Linked DNA regions of Homo sapiens: region 1 is linked to region 2. Evidence: promoter capture Hi-C in 16 types of primary human blood cells and fetal thymus (Javierre and others, 2016). All regions are on one chromosome and are shown on one strand. Each heading gives the region's core, a stretch centred on a gene start or on the middle of the fragment in contact. The rest is flanking DNA. Distances are from core to core; before and after follow the strand shown. Region 1 has its middle 12 kb from the start of ACP7. Region 2 holds the start of RASGRP4 (RAS guanyl releasing protein 4).

The links. Contacts are between HindIII fragments. The CHiCAGO score rates a contact against its expected background, and 5 or more counts as called.
Region 1: a fragment that was not itself captured here is called in contact with the fragment with the promoter of RASGRP4 in region 2 in 1 of 17 cell types (erythroblasts); the score reaches 6.4 in erythroblasts.

The regions. Positions count from the first base shown.
Region 1 is chr19:39,070,491-39,073,921 of GRCh38, reverse strand. No RefSeq gene overlaps it. Among named protein-coding and RNA genes, the nearest start is that of ACP7, 12 kb to the left of the region's middle. RefSeq lists an enhancer at 1-475. The HindIII fragment of the contact is 4,805 bases long and covers 1-3,431 here.
Region 2 is chr19:38,424,736-38,427,957 of GRCh38, reverse strand. RASGRP4 (RAS guanyl releasing protein 4) reads left to right here and starts at 1,739. Exons shown (of 17, transcript NM_170604.3): 1 at 1,739-1,889. The coding sequence starts at 1,867. RefSeq lists an enhancer at 397-911 and a silencer at 1,804-1,863. The HindIII fragment of the contact is 20,985 bases long and covers 1-3,222 here.

The DNA.
Region 1 (3,431 bases), core at 538-3,037, 650 kb before region 2:
CATATGATGTCACATGTCAGGGGACCTGTGAGCCACCGGAGGTGAGCAGCATGCCCAGGGCACAGCTCACCTCCCGAGAGATGCCACCCTGCTTCAAATTACAGCAGGAAGGAAGAGTGACTCACCCTCTCAGATGTGGAGGCTTCCTGTGACGGACCCAGGACAGCCCACCCCACACTTCACCTCATAATCACAGCCACAGCCAGTTCACTGGAGGCTTCCTGTGAACCGTGTATGATTGCATGGATTCCTCACCACTTCACATGGTCCCATTTTGTATTACAGAAGAGGAAACTGAGGTTCAGAGGAGTGAGCTCACTTACCTGACATCACACTGTCAGTAAGAAGAATAGCTAAGCCAGGTGCGGTGGCTCATGCCTGTAATCCCAGCACTTTGGGAGGCCAAGGCGGGTGGATCGCCTGAGGTCAGGAGTTCGAGACCAGCCTGGCCAACATGGTGAAACTCTGTCTCTACTAAAAATACAAAAATTAGCCAGGCATAGTGATGGACGCCTGTGTTCCCAGCTACTCAGGAAGCTGAGACAAGAGAATCTCTTGAACCTGGGATGTGGAAGTTGCAGTAAGCTGAGATTGCACCATTGCACTCCAGCCTGGGCAACAGAGCAAGACTCTGTGTCAAAAAACAAACAAACAAACAAACAAAAAACCTGAGATTCATTCCTTTCTGCACACTTGGCCTTAACCACCAGGCCCCACTGTCTCCGATTCATCCCTCTGCCATCTCATCCTGGATTTCAGGCCTCAGGTCCTGTGTCATCTCCCAGCATGGTTTTGTTTTTGTCTTTTTTTCTTTTCTTTTTTTTTTTTTTAAGATGAAGTTTTGCTCTTGTTGCCCAGGCTGGAGTGCAATGGCGCAATGTTGGCTCACTGCAATCTCCGCCTCCGGGGTTCAAGCAATTCTCCTGCCTCAGCCTCCTGAGTAGCTGGGATTACAGGCATGCACCACCACGCCCAGCTAATTTTGCATTTTTAGTCAAGACGGAGTTTCTCCATGTTGGTCAGGCTGGTCTCGAAGTCCCGACCTCAGGTGATCCACCTGTCTTGGCCTCTCAAAGTGCTAGGATTACAGGCGTTAGCCACCCTTCCTGGCCATGTATTTTGTTTTTTAAGACAGGGTCTCATTCTGTTGCCTAGGCTGCAGTGCAGTGTCATGATCATAGCTCACTGCAGCCTCGAACTCCTGGACTCAAGTGATCTTCCCACTTCAACCTCCCTAGTAGCTGAGACTACAGTTTCACACCACCTCACCCACCTGATTTTTAAAAATTTTTTGTAGACACAGTCTCGCCTTGCTGACCAGGCTGGTCTCAAACTCCTGGGCTGAAGCGATCCACCTGCCTTGGACTCCCAGCGTGCTGGGATTATAGGCGTGAGCCACTGCACGTGGCCTCCAAGCATCACTGTATCATCAGGTGGACATAACAGTTCCATAAAATCCGGAATTGAGGCCAGGGACAGACTAAACCCTCAAACAAACATGAGCTCTTATAAATATTGGCCCAACTATTTATTTATTTTTATTTTATTATTATTTTTTTTTTTTTGACAGAGTCTTGCTCTGTCGCCTAGGCTGGAGCACAGTGGTGTGATCTTGGCTCACTGCAACCTCTGCTACTTGGGTTCAAGTGATTCTCCTGCCTCAGCCTTCCAAGTAGCTGGGAATACAGGCACATGACACCATGCCTGGATAATTTTTGTTTTTTGTTTTTTGAGACGGAGTCTCACTCTGTTGCCCAGGCTGGAGTGCAGTGGCGCGATTACGGCTCACTGCAAGCTCCACCTCCCGGGTTCATGCCATTCTGCTGCCTCAGCCTCCCAAGTAGCTGGGCCTACAGGTGCCCGCCACCATGCCCGGCTAATTTTTTTTTGTATTTTTTAGTAGAGACGGGGTTTCACCTTGTTAGCCAGGATGGTCTCGATCTCCTGACCTCGTGAACCACCTGCCTCGGCCTCCCAAAGTGCTGGGATTACAGGCGTGAGCCACTGCACCCGGACTTTTTTTTTTTTTTTTTTTAGTAGAGACAGGGTTTTACCATGTTGGCCAGGCTGCTCTTGAACTCCTGACCTCAAATGATCTGCCCACCTCGGCCTCCCAAAGTGCTGGGATTACAGGTGTGAGCCACCATGCCTGGCCCCAACTATTTATTGTACCATTGTTGGGTACACCATTTTCCACTGTAGTCACATTGAGGAGTGTTGGAAGATTTTAAAGTCCTACGGGGGTGTGCTCGGGAGGCTGAGGTGAGAGGATCACTTGATCCCAGGAGACTGCAGTGAGCTGTGATCATGCCACTGCACTCCAGCCTGGGCAACGGAGCAAGACCCTGTCCCCCCCAAAAAATTGCCTTAAAAAATATCTTATTAGGCTGGACGCAGTGGCTCACGCCTGTAATCCCAGCACTTTGGGAGGCCGAGGCGGGCCGATCGCTTGAGCCCAGGAGTTTGAGACCAGCCTGGCCAACATGGCTAAACCTCGTCTCTACAAAAAATACAAAAATTAGCCAGGTGTGGTGGTGTGTGCCCGTGGTCCCAGCTATTCAGAAAGCTGAGATGGGAGGATCACTTGAGCCTGGGAGGGAGGCAGAGGTTGCAGTGAGCCAAGATCTCACCACTGCACTCCAGCCTTGGTAGATCCTGTCTGTAAATAAATAAATAAAAACCCACTGGAGAGCAAGGCTCATCCTTCTGTGTGAGGAAAGGGCAGCCTGGCCCCTGCTGTGTGAAGGATGAGCTGGGTCATATCAAGATCAAATCTGGTGTGATCTTCCCTGAGGGTCTACACTAATCCTTCCTCGTGAGTTCAGTGGGTGAGAACAGGAGTTGAGTCCTAGAGGGCACATGACTCACCACCAACTGGGGGATCTGTCAGGGCTGAAGCGTGGGTCACGCTGTGCATGGTCAGCAGGAGTGTGGTCAGCTCTGTGTATCCTACCTCCAGGAACACCCCAGCCCTCCACAGGCTCTCAGGCGTGGGCCCAGCAGCACAGTTACTAGAGGGAAACGAGTATACCCCTGGGTCCATGGCAGGTCACTCAGGGAGAACAGGCTCTCTGCCATGGTCCATGGCAGGTCTCGCAGGGAGAACAGGCTCTCTGCCATGGTCAAGGCAAGTCAAGTATAGACAGGAATGTGAGCCGGGTGTGGTGGCTCCCAGCACTTTGGGAGGCTGAGGTGGGAGGATCTCTTGAGCCCAGGAGTTCAAGAGCAGCTTGGGTGATGTAGTGAGACCCTGTCTCTGGTTAAAAAGAAAGGAAGAATGTGGTTCATGTTCACCCAGCCATACTCTCCTCAACTTAAAAAACAAAACAAAGGCCGGGTGCAGTGGCTCAAGCTGCAATCTCAGCACTTTGGGAGGCCACAGTGCAAGGTGGGCAGATTGCTTGAGCTCAGGAGTTCGAGATCAGCCTGGG
Region 2 (3,222 bases), core at 490-2,989:
GAGCCACCGCGCCCGGCCAAAAAAAGGAATAAATTATAACCAAATATGATAACATGGAAGAACTGCAAAGACAAGACGTGGAGAGAAAGAACCCAGATTCAATACAGGAGTCCATTTTTATCCAGCTCAAAACAAGACAAAACTACTGCGCCAGACTTCGGGCGAGTGGGGATCTGTGGGAATTCGTGCTGGGAAGAAAGACAGGGGGCTTGTGGAGGGTGAGAATGTTCTGTGTCTGGATTTGTATGAATGTCACACAGGTTTGCTCAGTTGGTGACATTTCATCAACCTAAATACTTAATGATTCGTGATCTTTTTTGTACTTCAATTTAAAAAAAAGTGTCGAGCATGACACATTTAGGTAAAAAGAAAAAAATGCACACTCAAAAGAAAAGTCTGTTTCTAGGAGCACATGTTTATATGATGTGCTTAAACGCACAGACAGCAGTTTGGACGAAACTCGACAACGTGTCATATTGGTCACACCCTGCTTAAGAAAGGCAGGGGATGGGGAGGGGCTTCCCCAAGGCTTTACCTCCATCTCTAATGTTTTTTGATGTGTGTGTGTGTTTTTTTTTTTTGTTTTTTGTTTTTTGAGACAGGGTCTGGCTCTGCCACGCAGACTGAAGTGCAGTGGCACCATCATGGTTCACTGCAGCCTCGACCTCCTTGGGCTCAAGCAATCTTCTAGCCTCAGCCTCCTGAGTAGCTGGGACTACAAGTGTGCATCACTACGCTCAGCTAACTTTTTTTTTTTGAGACAGAGTTTCGCTCCTGTTGCCCAGGCTGGAGTGCAATGGCGCGATCTCGGCTCACGGCAACCTCCGCCTCCTGGGTTCAAGCAATTCTCCTGCCTCAGCCTGCCGAGTAGCTGGGATTACAGGCATGTGCCACAACGCCTGGCTAATTTTGTATTTTTAGTAGAGACGGGGTTTCTCCATGTTGCTCAGGCTGGTCTTAAACTCCCAACCTCAGGTGATCCGCCCACCTCGGCCTCCCAAAGTGCTGGGATTGCAGGAGTGAGCCACCACACCGGCCTAACGTTTTACATTTTTTGTAGAGACGGGGTTTTGTCACGTTGTTCAAGCTGGTCTCAAACTCTTAGACTCAAGCGATCCGCCTGCCTTGGCCTCCCAAAGTGCTGGATGACAGGCGTGAGCCCCTGTGAGCCCCCGTGCCTGGTCCGGTATGTAATTTTTTTTAAGGTAACAGTGGATTGTGTGAGGATTAAATGAGTTAATATTTTTAAAGTCCTTACAGCAGTGTGTGGTACACAGTAGGTGCTATGTGGAGGTTTGTTACAATAAAGTCAGAAAGTGAAAATGTTTTCCAGGGTACAAATGGTATCACTTAAACTAGGAATAAGAGACGCCTATGAAGAAATATACAAAATACTATGTCTTGTGAGTTTCCATTCAAACCTTCATGAATTATATATATGAATATGTCCTTCTAGACAGACAGACTTATCTTTTTGAGTGAGTGTGTGTGTTTTTACATAAATATCAGTCATGCTTTAAAAAGAAAAGCCCCTTCTTTTATTGAAGTATGACAGTGACGGGTCTCGACACCGAAAGATGGGGGAGATAGAGAGCCCGCCGGGGAGCTTGAGGGTGGGAGAGCCAGCGATGCCGGAAACCTCAGCAGAAGGGATCCCCGTGTGGGGGAGGGGGGCCTTCGGTCTCTCCCCAGCCTCTTCCTTCCCCCTGGCCTGAGGGTGGGTGGGGAGGGGCAGTTCCTCTTTCCTTCCCAAGCACCGAGGAGGCCCCAGCTCCCTAGGGGCTGAGAAGCTGGAGTCCTGGGCAAGGGGAGGAGCTGAGCCCTACTCTTGCAAGACCCCCGGCCTCCTCACCCCACGCGGGAAGCATGAACAGAAAAGACAGTAAGAGGTGAGAGGACCCTCCCCAGGGAGCCCGGCAGCACCCTGAGGCCTCCCTCTGCATGGGAGGGCTGGGGAGATCACTCGCCAGGGTGGCAGGATTCCTGACTTCTTTGGGATCAGGCGCAGGGGGGCCAGGTGGATGCTTCAGGGAGTCTGGAGCCAGCTACGGCTGCAGTCGCTTGTATGTGGCATCTGTACCGTGTTGTCCCTGGAGTTTGAGCTGCTCCGTGCCCCTTTTCCACTCCTCATCACCCCACCTCCATCCCTGGCCTGGGCTGAGTGTCTCTGCCCTCCCTGGGGGCTTCCTGGTTCCCCATCCCCGTGGACTGGAAACTCCAGGCTCCTGCAGGGCCTGGCCCAGGAGAGGGGAGTGTGGCACAGGGCAAGGCGACTCCCCTGCCTCTTAAACCACTCCTGGCTGTTCCAGACCCCTACAGGGGGCTGCAGGACAGGGCCTAGTGGCTGGCTGTGCGGCCGGTTCTGGAATGGGCTTCATCTCCTGGGCAAGCTGGCCCTTCTGTCCCCACAGAGGCAGATGGTGGGTGGCTCCCTAGCCTGGGTAACTCCTCCTGCCACCCCCAGCACCACTCTGATGGGCAAAGGGCTTTCCTCCCCACCCAGCAGTTTAGTGGTAGACTCCTGGCTGCCTAATTTCCTAGCTGTGTGACCTTAGGTAAGTCACTTAACTGCTCTGTGTCTCGGGTTTTTCTTCTGTCAGTAGAACAATCATATCCTCTACCTCGGAGAGGCCTGTAAGTACTCAATGAGACACTCTAGACCAGTGGTTCTCAAACTGGAGCGAGCCTCAGAACTGTCTGGAGGGCTTGTAAAATACAGGTTGCTGGGCTTACCTTTAAAGTGTTTGGTTTTTTTTTTTTTGTTTTTTTTTTTTGAGACGGAGTCTCGCTCTGCCGCCAGGCTGGAGTGCAGTGGCACAATCTTGGCTCACTGCAACCTCTGCCTCCCGGGTTCAAGCGATCATCCTGCCTCAGCCTCCCAAGTAGCTGGGACTACAGGTGTGCACCACCACACCCAGCTACTTTTTTGTATTTTTAGTAGAGATGGGGTTTCACCATGTTGGGCAGGATGGTCTCGATCTCTTGACCTCGTGATCCACCCACCTCGGCCTCCCAAAGTGCTGGGATTAGAGGCATGAGCCACCACCCTTAGCCTTAAAGTGTTTGATTTTGTAGGTCTGGGTTGGGACCTGAGAATCTGTATTGATATCCAGTTCCCAGGTGATGCTTTTGGTACTAGCTGGGTGCCCACACTTAGGGAAATGCTGACTTAGTTAGAATGCTCCTTCCTTAGCCTAGGACATATATAATACTTTAAAATGT